4 separate regions of the Homo sapiens genome follow, and all the other regions are linked to region 1. Evidence: promoter capture Hi-C in 16 types of primary human blood cells and fetal thymus (Javierre and others, 2016). All regions are on one chromosome and are shown on one strand. The core of a region is centred on a gene start or on the middle of the fragment in contact, and the rest is flanking DNA. Distances in the headings are between cores, read along the strand shown. Region 1 holds the start of LACTB2 (lactamase beta 2). Region 2 overlaps MSC-AS1 (MSC antisense RNA 1). Region 3 has its middle 13 kb from the start of MSC-AS1. Region 4 overlaps SULF1 (sulfatase 1).

The links. Contacts are between HindIII fragments. The CHiCAGO score rates a contact against its expected background, and 5 or more counts as called.
Region 2: a fragment that was not itself captured here is called in contact with the fragment with the promoter of LACTB2 in region 1 in 1 of 17 cell types (M2 macrophages); the score reaches 6.4 in M2 macrophages.
Region 3: a contact is called between a fragment that was not itself captured here and the fragment with the promoter of LACTB2 in region 1, in 3 of 17 cell types (M1 macrophages, M2 macrophages and M0 macrophages). The highest score is 5.4, in M1 macrophages.
Region 4: a contact is called between a fragment that was not itself captured here and the fragment with the promoter of LACTB2 in region 1, in 1 of 17 cell types (naive B cells). The highest score is 5.3, in naive B cells.

The regions. Positions count from the first base shown.
Region 1 is chr8:70,667,581-70,671,332 of GRCh38, reverse strand. It overlaps LACTB2 (lactamase beta 2), which reads left to right and starts at 2,148. Exons shown (of 7, transcript NM_016027.3): 1 at 2,148-2,334. The coding sequence starts at 2,213. It overlaps XKR9 (XK related 9), which reads right to left and starts at 1,994. Exons shown (of 5, transcript NM_001011720.2): 1 at 1,795-1,994. The HindIII fragment of the contact is 8,354 bases long and covers 1-3,752 here.
Region 2 is chr8:71,965,957-71,969,708 of GRCh38, reverse strand. All of the region lies in intron 4 of MSC-AS1 (MSC antisense RNA 1), which reads right to left. Among named protein-coding and RNA genes, the nearest start is that of TRPA1, 110 kb to the left of the region's middle. The HindIII fragment of the contact is 5,269 bases long and covers 1-3,752 here.
Region 3 is chr8:71,827,994-71,831,745 of GRCh38, reverse strand. No RefSeq gene overlaps it. Among named protein-coding and RNA genes, the nearest start is that of MSC-AS1, 13 kb to the left of the region's middle. RefSeq lists enhancers at 250-429, 6-1,205. The HindIII fragment of the contact is 1,641 bases long and covers 1,097-2,737 here.
Region 4 is chr8:69,651,111-69,654,862 of GRCh38, reverse strand. All of the region lies in intron 22 of SULF1 (sulfatase 1), which reads right to left. Among named protein-coding and RNA genes, the nearest start is that of SULF1, 160 kb to the right of the region's middle. The HindIII fragment of the contact is 942 bases long and covers 1,362-2,303 here.

The DNA of each region.
Region 1 (3,752 bases), core at 899-3,398:
AAATGAGATCATGTCATTTTCAGCAACATGGATGGAACTAGAGATTATGATAAGTGAAATAATCCATGCATAGAAAGACAAATATCACATATTCTCATTCATACGTGGGAGCTAAAAAGTTTATCTCAGCCAGGCATGGTGGCTCAAGCCTGCAATCCTAGCACTTTGGGAGACCAAAGCAGGAGGATCACCTGAATCGCTTGAGTTCAAGAGTTCAAGGTTACAGTGAGCTATGATAGTGCCACTGCACTGCAGCCCGGGTGAAAGCCAGACCCTGTAAGTAAATAAGTAAGTTAAGTAAGGAAATTAATTAAGCCAAAGAATAAAAGAAGGGGAGTGCCCAGATTCTCAGGAATCTGGTCCAGAAATTACTGTTCCATCCTCTTCTCCAGGGTTCACTGACTTTCCAGCAGAGTTCTTAAAAAGGGAAGATGTGCAAAGCCTCCTGCCTGAATAGCCATTAATTGATGGCTATCATAAATACATATTGACAGATTGAAATGCCTGATGTAGGAGATTTGGTTACTTTAAGTATTTTTTGAAGGGTATACTGTTTAACTTCCCATTGCAACAGGGGATAACTTATATGATTATTTCAGCGATGATTTTTTGAATATTTTTCCATTAAAAGTACAACTGTGTGAAACAAGGCAAAGACATTTCTCACACACAAAGCAGATGTCATTAGCCACTCTGATACACTATGCTGCTGATTCATAAAATAGGTAAGAGCAGATCGTTTTCTTCATCAGAAATATCTGGAAAAAAAAAAGCCACCAAGCACTGTATGTGTCAATTTCTCACCTTTTTTTAAAAAAAAAAAGAGTGGGCTGCTACAGTGGATATGTTCTACATCTCTTTGGGGCAGTGATTACATACAATTGTCATAACTCGATGGAACTGTCTACAGGATCTGTGTATTTTCTTTTAAGTAATTTATAACTCAACTTTTTTTATGGGAAGCTGTAGTTAACACTGGATAGTTAATACTTGGCTGATAAGAAACCGACTTGTTACAGAGAAAATGAGTCCCTTCCATCTTGGGCACAAAACGGCTCCACAAGACCAGCCTAGCTCTCTGGGCAGGCAGGTAACACTGGCAGGCAGAGGCATGCTCCTTGAATCTCACTGAGGGGGACAAGTGTTAGTGCGAGGCAGGTAGGAGCAAGGCCGCACACGCAGACTCTGTCATCTGGGCAGCTGCCCAATCCCCGTTTTTCATTTGTAACAAAAATAGTGTCCACCTCTTAATAATGTTCTGAGGATTAAGGGCGTTAAGTCGGATGTTTGTTGAAAGCACTTAGGCATAGTAGGAAGTACTAAGTAAATATGTCTTACCACTATTTATTATAAAAGATGAACAGGCTGGCCCGGCGTGGTAGCTCACGCCTGTAATCCCAGCACTTTGGGAGGCCGAGGCGGGCGGATCACGAGGTCAGGAGATCAAGACCTTCCTGGCTAACACAATGAAACCCGGTCTCTACTAAAAATACAAAAAATTAGCCGGGCGTGGTGGCGGACGCCTATAGTCCCAGCTACTCGGGAGGCCGAGGCAGGAGGATGGCGTGAACCCGGGAGGCGGGGCTTGCAGTGAGCCGAGATCGCGCCACTGCACTCCAGCCTGGGCGACAGACCGAGACTTCGTCTCAAAAAAAAAAAAAAAAAAAATGAACAGGCTACTACTACTACTACTACACACACACACACACACACACACACACACACAGAGCCACTGCCTAAAAATCTGGCAATCCTTCCTGACATTTATTACTGAATAACGAACGGTTACCAAACCTGTCTCCCAAATCACAAGACTCTTCCAGATTAAAATGTCTCTCGCCCACTTGGATCCACTCGCCTGTCTAGGACACAAACCCGTGAGGCACCAGCCCCCGTGACAGAGGCAGATTCCAGCTTCGCCTCACGCCACCTCACGCCTCGCGCCAGCCTTCCCACCACTGCCCGCGCAGCCCGCGCGGCGTCACGTGACCTCTAGTTCCGCACCGCCCCCCCCACCCCCCGGCCTAGCTGCCGGATCCCCGCCCCGGCTCGTCCGCGGTGTCACATGACACCTGGACCAGCCGCTGGCCAATCCCCTCCCTCCCGGGTTGCGAGGCATCACGTGGACGCTACTCGCTATCCCCGGCCTGTTGGCTTCTTCCGCGCTGGAGTATCCAGATAGGCGACACGCCGGCGGGCGGCTGAGGCGGGAATGGCTGCTGTACTGCAGCGCGTCGAGCGGCTGTCCAATCGAGTCGTGCGTGTGTTGGGCTGTAACCCGGGTCCCATGACCCTCCAAGGCACCAACACCTACCTAGTGGGGACCGGCCCCAGGTAAACGTCCCTCTCCAACCTCCCCAACGTTCGCAGCCGGCCCCGGAGCCCGGGCTTTGACTGATCGCGGCTGCGCGGGCAGTGGAGAGCGCCGCGTCCTGTCCCTAGCTGGGCAGCCCCGCGCCTAGCAGCCCCGTCGGGACTGCACGCAGACACTCGGATCTCGAAGCTAGCTAAAATACGACCACCCCAGGTGATAGCTCTCTAATTTAGGGAGAAATGGAAAAAAAAAAAAAAAAAAAAAAAAAAACTTCTGTTTTGAAACCCGATTTACTGTTCTTGATGTTTGAATGCCAGGGTGTGCGTGTTTAAACTGTTGAGAAAATTCGGATGTCAAGAGTCCAAGAAAGCGTTTACTTTGCTCACTTGACTTTCACTGGTGTTTTGCCCAGAGTGTAACTTCCCTTCTCAAAAGCGATTAATTATGTTGAGGCGATTTCCTCAACTCAGCAGCAGAGGGCAGGATTCTCCTGGCTTCCAAATTGGTTCTCTGCAGCCTGTGGGCTCATAAGAGGAGCTGACATAAGTAATTTGGGGAAGTTTTTTGTTACAATTGTGTGTGACCTTGTTTGAGTTTAATTTGCAGACACAGTAACACACCTGTATTTCTAAGAAGATACTTTTGCTCTTGTTTAGCTGCATTCTGTTTTAGTGGAATTATGCAGGAATGGGAGATTTGGTTTACTGCATAGTAAGTCTTAGGCATTTAGCAACTTTTGTAGTCTTTACTGGATGAACCCAGATAATGTAGTTTCTCTTGAGCATAGAATTTAATTGTGCAGTCAAGACATAAATTATTTTTAAAATATAATTGATTACTAAAAACGATTTAGTAAGTACAGTTAATTGAGTTTTCCTTGGAAGTGTCTACTGTTTGGCGTTTTTCCAGTAAATAAGAATTTTAGAAGCAGCAGACCTGCAAAGTGGGCAGGTAAAAGATTAAGTTCAGAGTAAATAAGGCAGGGTCAGGTAGTTACCAAAGGTTTAGGCTGCCACCAGAATCTAGGAGGATAGAGAATTAAGCAGGAAAAATGCCAGATCTCTAGGGTACAGTCTGTCTTGGCTGGAAGTCCCTCAACCAAGTAAATCCATAGGCGGTCTCTCTACAGTGTGTCATCTTGAACTAGTCAATACCTCAGACAAAAGATGCATATTATCAGAATTACCCTGGAAAGTCTCTTAGAAGAACACCATGTTGGAGATCAGTGTATTGTCTCAGTAAGTTCAGCACAACCTGCCTTTTTTCCAGCGTTGAAACAGATGGCTGATTCTGTTTGAAAACCAGGTGAAGAAATTGGCTTGTGTTGAGGGGCTATATTGTATGAAAAATACATACTGTATCTTTAAACACTATAATCACACTCAACATAGCAAAGTGCTAGTGCTAAGAGAGACTTAAAGACTAACTGAGGGAAAAG
Region 2 (3,752 bases), core at 721-3,220, 1.3 Mb before region 1:
TTCATTTGTACTCCAAACCTCAGCATCACACAATATTCCTTTAAACATGCACATGTACCCCCTGAAGCTATAATAAAAGTTGAAAAAAAACCCAAAATTGAGATGAAGTTAAAAAATAAAAGAAATGAAAAGAAAACATTCCTGAGACTTGAGTGACTGGAGAACAAGCCAGGAAAGGGAGGAAAGCAGGGCACTTAATATACAAGGTGGCTTGTAAGGCATAATAAGTTGCTCAATAAACCAGATTTGTCATCAGTAGCAGACTTCTATATGAGAGACATAGGGACCTGGAGAGGGGATTGGAAATAATGCCCACCACTGTCCACCAGTCTCTCAAGGGGTATATCTTCCTAGTCAAGGAGCACAACACTATGCAAGATGCTATACTATGACAGCTGCCACCATGCCACATTCTGAGGCTAGAGAGCAAAGCAGAATCCTCATGTGAAAATAGAATTTCCTCTGGGGCTGGCCAGCCTGTGAACTTCAGCCTTCAATTTCTTTGTGATTCCCTAAACCTGGCCAGCAGCTTTCACATGTCACCTTGGGCATAACCTTCCAAAGGTACAACTACACACAAGCACTGACCGACCCTGGGACTTGTGAGAGTATATTTTGCTCCTGGGCAGAGAGGAACAGCTCCTAAGCATGTGGAAACTTTCCCCAGTTTCACTCCTGCTTTCCTTCAGCATCAGCTCCCATTCTCTGCCATGCACTCTGCAGCCGGCCCGGATTCTCACGGTACCTTGGGATTTACCCTGCTTTCCTACGATGCCTTAACTTGCACATTTTATTCCATATGCCTGTAATACCCTTTCTTTCATTTTGCAACTGGGGAAAATCTACACATCTTTCAAAGTTCAGATAACTTATCTGAGTCTTCTTTAATCAGAATGAGTCACTTCCTCCTCTGTGCATTTATAACTCCTAATATATCACTTTGCTACACTGTTTTATAATACTAGCTTCACATATTGAATCCCAAACATTGCCAAAAGCTCCCTCTCCACCTGATGCTGCTTCTGTTCTTTATTCTTGCAAATAGCACCTCCACCTGTCTGAGGCAGACATTGAACATCACCCTCTACCTGATTTTTAAGGGGTTATCAAACCTAATTAATTTTACTTTCTAAATATCTCTTACATTTGTATCTCTCTTTTTGCTTCATCACTACCCTAGGTTATTATTTCTTCCTTCTACTGTTGCTTTTGTTTTTTAACTAAGCTATCCACCTCCGGACTCCAATTCCTCCTGCCTTTGGGGAGGCACTATAGCAAGGGTAATTGCACGGACTCTCCTGCCTGATTACCTTGATTTGGATCTCAGTGTTGCTACTTAGTGTGCATGTAGCTTAGTAAAAGAAGACATGCTAGTATTCACCTCTTAGTTTGCTGTGAAAATGAAAAGCAGTAACATATGTAATATGCCCGGAATAATACCAGGCACAGAATAAGGACTTTTTGAAGGTCAGTAATTTTCATTATTCTTCCAGCACCTGTGCTACCTTGAGAATGATTTTCAAGTCTACTTTTTTGCAAATCTGATAGCATCCCTCCCCTGGAAAAATGCTTCTGAGACTTCCTGTGGTCTTTGGAATTTAGTGAGGTTTGTATGACCCTACATGACCTGCTCTGCACCCGCCCCCACCCCGTGCCAGCCTTCTCTCTCCTACTTTCACAACACCCTGTGCTACAGATGAGGAGCCACCAGCTCTTCCCTTGCTGCCTACTCTTCAGCCTCTTTTTCTGGTGAGTTATCCCCCTAGAGGACATTTACCCTCCATCCACTTGACTGATTCTAGTTTATTCTTCAAAATCTGTTCCTAAGTCCAATTCACTATCTGAGGAGCCCAGGAAAACAAACAAACAAAAATAGATTTCAAACATGCTAACAAATATATTTGAATTTAAAATTGTATGTAACATTATTTGTAGGTTATAAGACAGGATGGTTATTGGGGCTTTTTTTTTCCCATTGTTGGCATCATCCTGTCAAAGTTTCCTCTGAACTGACCACCAAATAGCTCTATGACCTATGCTTTCTTTCGGTTTTGAATATTTAGAATAATATCTTTGTTGAATGATATTTCAACAAATTTTTATTTTGTGAAATAAGATTATTTCACCTCAAGATTATTCAACATTCATGAAAATTGTACAAATTCAATCAATTTGGATTAAGTAGGGATTAAAGAAATTTGGGGTTGTGATGGTTTTAATGATTAACATTAATTCAACATATTAACATCCCTTCTCTCCTGCTCCTGAGAACACACAAAAATGAGAGAGATTAAAAAACAAAAAACAAAACAAAACCTCTGTCCTTAAATTGCCAAGGCTGATAAGGAGATGGGCACATTAAGCCACAGCCTGAAGGGAGTGATGAATATTTCAATAGTACACAGCCTGATATGGGAACAGACAGCGGGAAGGCATTAACTCTGCATACAGGTGAAGGTGAAACCCAGGTAGATCAGGGAAGAATAAGCAAGACTTTTTTTGTGTATCAGTTGAAGGAAGTGCTCCAGGACAGCACAGGCATGAGGCATGGAGAGCCATGGACCACAGCACAAGAGGTTGGGAATTGTTGGAGACAAGAATAGACATAGGAGAGTGACAGGAAGTAATTCTGGAGAATGTGTGGAAGCCAGAGAGTGAAGCGTCATGCATGCCATGTTAAAAAATCTAAACATTATCCTGTAGGTGAAAGTATTCCATTGAAAGGTTTAAAAACATGTAACATGGTCATATTTATGTTTTCAAAAGAACAACTTGATGCTGATGGGTTTAGGTGCCAGAAATGTCATCGTCTCAAGGCAAGGAGACCAATCCACAGGTTACTGTAATAGTCCAGGCAGGAAGGGAGTTGGTGAGGCAACCACATAGCAGAATGCGCTTTATAAGTTCAAGTCATTTCACGGAGAGACTCCCCTCTTTGTAGAATGGTGTGTGACCCCATCTATAAGTCTAAAAGAAAGAGTAATATGACTTTTGATGTGTATTTCAAGAATGTCCTATTTATTTCTAGTATGTTCTAAGTATTTCTATAATTAACTATTTCTGTAGCATCATAGTTCTGAAATTAGATTATAATACTTGACATCCTTATTGTTCAGCTCTAATGTTGTATTAAAGTATAGGACTGAGGTTTTTGGATTAGCCACAGATACAGATAGATCCCTGGCACAAATGGACAGTCACAACTTCTAAGATTCTATAATGGAAGAGGAATTCTAGAGAGGCAGCTTCTTTGGCCTTTGTATGTATTAGTAGTAGAAGCAAAGCAGTAGAATGAAAAGTGAAGGACTTTGAGAGGCTTTCTTGCATGGAACAGACCAGGGAGGAGTTACAAATAGTACATTGGAACTTGTGAGTATAAACTTACTAGTAGGTTCTTTGAATTTGTTAAGTCAAATTGGCTCTTAATTGACAGCACTGCCATGTTAAATGGAGACATTTTCAGGTGGAGGCTTGATGGTAGCGGAGTATATATACCCTGCTGGGGCTCAGGTAGACTTATCTGGTTTCTCCAGCGGAATACGTTCGGGATTAAATCTCCTCCTTAGCCCTCTGAAGCGTGTAAACAATGCCCTAAGTGCGCTGAGGTCAGACCACTTCTGCTGAACTAAAAACACTTCTTAAAACTATTCAGCTAAGTAATCCGTCAGTTTTCCTTAATTTTCTCAAACCTGGGCCCTATCTCTTCTTTTTCTATGTGCTCTGCCACTAATCTTGGGTAATATTGCTTAAAT
Region 3 (3,752 bases), core at 668-3,167, 1.2 Mb before region 1:
ATCCCGATATGTGATTCACCTGAGCACAGACTCATAGAAAGCTACTTTGTCTGGCAATGTGCAGAATAGATTGAACAGAGCACAAGTTGGACAGTCCAGGCAAAAGAAACTGAGGCCTAGGCTGAGACGATGGTGGTGGGAATACCAGGGATAGAGCCAAGAGACTTTTGACTGCTAGAATCAAATTAACTGGGTTATAGACTGGATGTGTGTGATGAAAGCCAGGGTAAAAGCCACAATGACTACAAGGTTTCTAATTCGGGCCAGACAGTGAATAGCAAAGTCATCATGAGTCATGATTTATCACTAAAATTTAAAAGGGCAAGTTTGAAACAGTACAGAATTGAGAAACTTTGCCATTCATTTGGGAACTCTACCATCCATTGGCCCATACAGATTCTTATCAAATTTGGTCTTACTCTGGGGACTTAGATTCTTTCAGAGGGGGTAAAATCATAACTGAAAGCTTAAAGAGAGAAGGGGTTTGTGCAGCTCAGAGACACAAAGCTTGGAAACAGGGCCCTTGCCTTGATCGCATGTGAGCATGCCTTTTTTCTTTCATTGGATTCTAAATATCTTCAGAGCAGGAATCATCATTTTTCATTTTGTGTCTTATGAAATTACAACCTCCATCTGTCTGGTACAAAGCAGATGATCAATAAATATTTAATAAATTTCTCTTGATAGAAAATAGTTATTGCTACTCTTTAGTTTAAATTCCTTCTCACTTGTAAAACGAGGGTGATTTGATTTGGGAAAGTCCATACCCTGGAACCACCCGAGATATGTAGTCATCACAGACAACTAAGAAAGTATGTCTAATTAGTCACTACCATTTGACACTACTATTTCTGCTGTACATAATCTGATGGTGCTAGGGAGCCCTCAGACAGAAAAAGAAGAGTATTGACTGAGTTCAGTAAAGTACTTTAAAATGTAAAGCTTTAAAATTGGAAGAGGCAAATTCATACTGTAAACACGCTAAGCACCATGCTATACGCTTTACAGATATCAGCCCTTTAATGCCTCTGATCAGGCCCATGAATAGGCCTGTGATAGTCTTGATTTATGGGTGGGAAAACAGGCTCTCAAAGCTTCAATAACCTTCCAAGGGCCACACAGGGAATAACTGGTGGAATCAGAGTTTAAATCTATTTCTCTCTAGCTAAGAATCTGAACCCAAAACCATTCCCTGAGCCTCCCCAAAAGTTGTCTGCTGGGGTGAAAGGAAGCTGGTGGGAAGATGGTGCCCACCGATGAGACTAACTGAACTTTAGGAGTTAACTCGGAACAACGGATGAGCCATAGAGCTATACCTCCTTCCGAGGGCTTGACACGGGACGAAAGCGCAGAAAGGAGTCAAGGCTGTCTGCTTCCTTGGCGGTGCCCACCAATGCAACCCAGGGAGTGGCACTTGTCTATAAACATATTTGTTTCTTTTTGGGTTTGCTTTCCTCTTTATTTTATAATGAAGATGATTTGAAAAACACCCAATTTATATGTGCTGAACTAAAAAGAAAATAGATCTATTCTCACTTAGGATTTTTAGCTCACAAAATTACATACTCCTGGAGAGCCCAGCAGTGGAGGCAGGGAGTGGCCAATCTGAAGATGAACAAAGAACTGCTCCTGGGAGAAACTGAGGTAGGGGAGCCAAGAAATGCCATGACCGAGGAGAAGCCCCAGTCTGCCTAGAAGAGCTGATCATTTTTGTTTGACCTTAATAGATACTTGCTTAAGTGAGTTATAGGAACAAACAATTTCCCACCAACAACAAGTGATCCACTTTTTTCCATCTTCACCAAAGACAGAAAAAGAGAAAACATGTGTGAATTGAAACATATAAGAAGTACAGTAGATTTAATGAAATTGCCAGAGAGAGGTTTTCTAACCGTCTAGGATTTGTGATGTAGAATTTGCGCAGTTAGGGAAGAATCTGTGGTACAGATTTCGTAGAATCATAAAGCCACAAAACTTTAGAGCTAGAAGGTATCTCATAAGTAATCTACTTTGGTTTATCATGGCATTCTAAAGATAATAAAAAACAAAGACTATATGGTTACTGTAATTACCTAACCGGGACTGTTGTGCAACAATGTAAAATTATGGCCCCAAATTATGCAATACCTAGGAAAATTTTATGAAATAAACAGGATAAGAAACTATAATTATAGCAATGACAATAAAAATCAAAATAATCTAATCATTTTAAAGATAAGGAAAATGAAACTGGATTTTTGGAAACTGGCTTCTCATCTGTCTTGGATTAGAGAAAGATGCTGCTTGAAAGTTTGGCTTTTTAAAAAAAAATCCCCTTGTCATTTAAGGTCATTTCTGGTCTGTCTTTTACTGGCTGACTTCTCTTTGTCTTCCTCCCCTAAACCCTTCCCACTCCCTCTGCCTTAACCTGCAGAATTAATTCTACCTCATCTATATTTGTGCAATACTTTACACACATCTTCATTTTTAAAGAAAAGTTATTAAAAGTACTATATGCCCCAAAATGCAAGAATGGTGTGGCATAAGAAAATCAGTCAATGTAATACACATTATAGAATGAAGGGGAAAACTCACACAATCATCTTCATCGACATAGAAAAGCATTTAACAAAATCCCACACTCTTTCACGATAAAAAACAAAACAAAACAAAACAGAAAACCAGGAGAAGGCAACTTCCCCAGCACCATAAGACGCCTTTATGCTAACATCAAACCCAATATGAAAGACTGAAAGCTTTCCCCCATAAGGTCAGGAACAAGACAAGGATGCCTGTTTTCACCATGACTATTCAACACTGCACTGGAAGTTCTCACCATAAAAAGGAAGGAAACACTGACACGTGCTACAACATGGATGAACCTTGAAAATATTATGCTAAGTGAAAGCAGGTAGACACACAAGGTCACACATTGTATGATTCCATTTATATAAAATATTCAGAATAGATCAATCCTTTGGGACAAAAACAGATTAGTTGTTGCCAGTTCAAGGAGGGAACATAGAAACTGTTTAATAGCTAAGGGGTTTTAGTTTGGAATGGTGACAATATTTTGAAACTTATAGAAATGGTGATTTCGTGACATTGGGAATATGCTAAATGCCAGTAAATTGTCTACTTTAAAATGGCAATTTTTTTTTAGCATTCCACAGTGTGATCCTTTACTACAGCAAGGTGGCTGATTATCAAAAACTGAGAAAAGCAAGAGTGAATACGTTAAAAAGGTTTGTTGCAGATACAAGAAGGTAAGCGGAGGCAAAGATAACTCAGTGCTAGAGGTCTGGATGTGGCTCCTCAAGGAGCTCCCTGCAGCCCGGCTCCTCCAGGATGGCGCTCTGCACACAACCCGGGCAGCATCTGCTTCCCCGGGAAAAGTTACCCATTGACATCAGCTGTGTTTAAGAGCTAATTTTTATGTTAGGTGAATTTCATGATGTAACCAAGTTCAAAAAAATGAGTCCTTTGAAACCCAAATTCAAGGGCGGTAAATATATGTCAATGGGTATTTCCCCACTATATTAAGTACTTACACGCTCATTGTTTCTGCTGTTTGGGGACCTCTCTGCAGCTCCAGCACTTTCCACAGGATTCAATAGGAAAAATAATTGAGCGCCACGCAGCCGGTCCCAGTAATAAAAAGACGTCATTAGCGCGCCATCTCGTGGTAAATATATAAGTTGCAGCAAACCCTCAGGCTGCAGATTTTTTTTTTTTTTTTTTTTTTTTTTTTTTTTTTTTTTTTGTTAAGACAG
Region 4 (3,752 bases), core at 583-3,082, 1.0 Mb after region 1:
AGTAACAGTTCCATAAGAACAGGAAGGAATGGGCAGTTAAAACATTTGCTGTCTAAAATGTGGGGAGACAAAAGCATTGAAGGCTGGCTTACATACCTTCACACTCAACATAAGGGGGCTAAGGGAGTGTCCCCCACTGGACAGATTTCTCTGCTTTGCAGGAGGATAAGAGGAGAGGGGGCAGGAGAGGATGCCGGTGTGATGATGCAAGTCTTCTGCACAGCACTTCAACTTTCTTTTTTATACGTGATGCAGAGATGCAACTGCTGGTGTTGGAAGCAGGGATGTTTCCTAAGCAAAAAACCCTAATTATACTTTAAAACGATGTCAGAATTCCTAAGGGCCTGATAGGGCAGGTTGTGCCTTCACCCCATCTGGCAAAACTGGGGTTAACAGTGAATGCAGGTATACTGCCTGGTGGTTAAAAACAGTTCATTAGTTCTGCACCTATATAAACTTACTCTATTTGAATGGGAGCAGACTGAGCAAGAGGTACTTGCTAGCCTATTATTGGTAGTCTAGTGATAATACTAGACTAGTATTGCTGCCTGAAGCCTAGAGCAGCACAGTGGCTGAATCTAATGTCTCTTCCGAAGGTGGAAAACTTTGGTCATAAATGGAGAGATGGAGGAATAGTAACTGAGGCTGAAGGAATGAATAAGTGGGTTACGTCATGAGTCATGAGAGAAATCCAATATTACATTAACAGCTTGAAAAAGGCTCAGAACAGGAGATGACATTGTCTCTTAGCTCCATTATACCAGACTCCTAAAAGGGTGAGGTCATATATTGCTAAGCCACTCCTGGCAAGATCCAACAGAAGCTGGCAAACCTGAGTGGCCTTGCCCTAGGAGGTATTTTCATATGACAGAATGATGGACTGGACTAATTATTGATGGCTGAATGCAATTCTAGGAATGTGCCAATATCTTTTGACTTTTATAATCTTCTCACTACGGGGTTCATGGCCAGGGGACTAGGGCATAATAAGAAAAATGTATTTGGTCTACCCCCAGTTCACAGAGATCCTAACGCCCTTGCAATCTCCAGGGAGATAAGAGTGTCTTTTATATGCTGAGGAGATGGCTAGGGTACCCTAGACAGCTCTAGGTTGGGAGCTGGGCTGATCATCAGAAAGACCTCCACATGATTAGAGAGTTGGGACTCTCAGACCTCTGTGGAGTGGACAGGGGCCTGGAGATTGAGTTAACTACCAATGGCCAATGATGCAATCAATCATGCTTATGTAATGGAACCTCATTAAAAATCTTAAACGATAACAGGGTTCAGAGAAATTTCCAGCTGGTGAATGCAACCACATGCCGTGAAGGTAGCACACTTCGAACTCAAGGACAGAAGCTTCTGCGTTTGGGACCCATCTGGACCTTAGCCTATGTACCTCTTTGTCTGGCTATTTATTTGCATTTCTTATAATATCCTTTATAATAAACTGGTAAATATTTTAAAAATCGTTGAAATACACAAAATTAAAAACACAAGAGATGTGGCTCATGCCTGTAATCCCAGCACTCTGGGAGGCTGAGATGGGAGGATTGCGTGAGCCCAGGAGTTTAACAGTAGCCTGGGCACCATAGCAAGAACTCACCTCTAATAAAAATTTAAAAATTAGCTGAGTGTGGTGGCACACGCCTGTAATCCCAGCTACTCAGAAGGCTGAGGTGGGAGGATCACTGGAACCCAGGAGGCTGAGGCTGCAGTGAGCCATGATTGCTACTATACTCCAGCCTGGGTGACAGACGGAAACCCCATCTTAAAAAAAAAATAAAAACAAGAGACTACTTTGCAGACCTCAGTGAGAACAAATTTGAAAACCTGGATGAAACGTAGTTGCTCAGGAAAATAGTTTGCCGAAATTGATGCTGTTAAAAGAAAAACCTCAGCTGAATTAAGTTTAACAGAGTTTAATTGAGCAAAGAACGATTTGCAAATCTGGCAGCCTCCCAAGCCAGAGTAGACTGAGAGACTCCAACGCAGCTGCGTGGTGGAAGAAGATGTATGGACAGAAAAAGAAAAGCGACGGACAGAAAACAAAAGTGAAGTACAGAAGCAGCCAGATTGGTTACAGCTCAGTGTTTGCCTTATTTGAACAGAGTTTGAGCAGTTGGCCACCTTTGAAGGGCCAAAACTCAGTGATGGGCACAAGAGTAGGCTACAGTCTGTATACAACTCTATTTAGGTTATAGTTCACGATATACAGAGAAACCTTTAGGCTGAACTTAAAATATGTGAGGAGGCAGATTTAGGCTAAACTTGATTTAACAACCCAATATAGATAGAAAGCTTAAATAGAACAGTTTCCATAGAAGAAAAAGCAAGCCCAAAGAACCACTGTGCAAAGATGCATCAGGTCTGTGGACTTTCACAGGAGAAGTTTAACAAATCTTCAATGAAAAGAGAATACTAATAGACTGTTCTAGAGCAGATAACTCAAGAAAACTTCCAAACTCTTTTCACGAAGCAAGGATAACATTGATAGCTGTGATAGGCAGAATAGTGGACTCCACCCGGCAAAGATGTCCACATCCAAATTCCTGGAAACTATGGACAAGTTCCTTTACCTGGCCAAAGGGACTCTGCAAATGTGACTAAGTCATGGATCCTGAGATTGGGGTGGGGGAGTATCCTGGAGCATCCAGGTGGGGCCAGTGGGATCTCAAGAGTCCTTATAAAGGGAAAGGGAGGTGGTAGGAAGGAGGGGTAGAGAACGAGATGTGACCCCAGAAAACAGAGGAAGGTGGGGGTTGGGGGAGAGACTGATTTGAAGATTGGCTACATTTTTGTATTTGAAGATGGCAGAAGAGACCATGAATGAGGAATGCAGGCAGCCTCTAGAAACTGGAAAAGCAAGGACATTCTTGCCTCGAGCCCCCAGAAGATTTCAGCCCAGTAAGATTCATTTCGAATTTCTGACCCCTAGAAACACAAGAGAATAAATTTGTGTTGTTTTAAAGGCACAGTGGTAATTTATTACAGCAGTAATAAGAAACTAATATATCTAAGAGATAATGCTGGTAAAAACAAAAAGGAAATCACAGATTGGTATCATTTAAAAATATGATACAAAAATCTTAAATAAAATATTAGTGAACAGAATTCAATATTACGAAAGCAACACACAATGACCCAGTGGAATTTATTTCAGGAATGAAAGGATTCATTCTTACCAAATCTATTAATATAATACACAATAATAATTTAATAGATCTAAAGAGAATAATTATCTGAGCATCTTCATAGATGCTAAAAAAAGCTTTTTGACAAATTCAACGTTCATTAAAGATAAAAGCACTAAAAAAAAGAACTGATGGCTATTTCCTTAACATGATAAAAGTATATATAACTCAGTCCTAAAGCTTGCCTCTTATTTAATAGAGAAACTCTAAAAGCATTTTAATTGAAATCAGGAGCAGGGTAACATTATATTGGAAGCATTAGGTCACTCAATTAGACATATCTCTACATATCTGTAGGTACAACAATAGATGTCGAGGCTGGGCGCGGTGGCTCATGCCTGTAATCCTAGCACTCTGGAAGGCTGAGGTGGGCGGATCACCTGAGGTCAGGAGTTCAAGACCAGCCTGGCCAACATGGTGAAACCCTGTCTCTACTAAAAATACAAAAATTAGCTGGGCATGGTGGCAGGTGCCTGCAATCCCAGCTACTCGGGAGGGGAGGAAGAAGAATGGCTTGAACCCAGAAAGTGGAGGTTACAGTGAGCCAAGATCATGCCA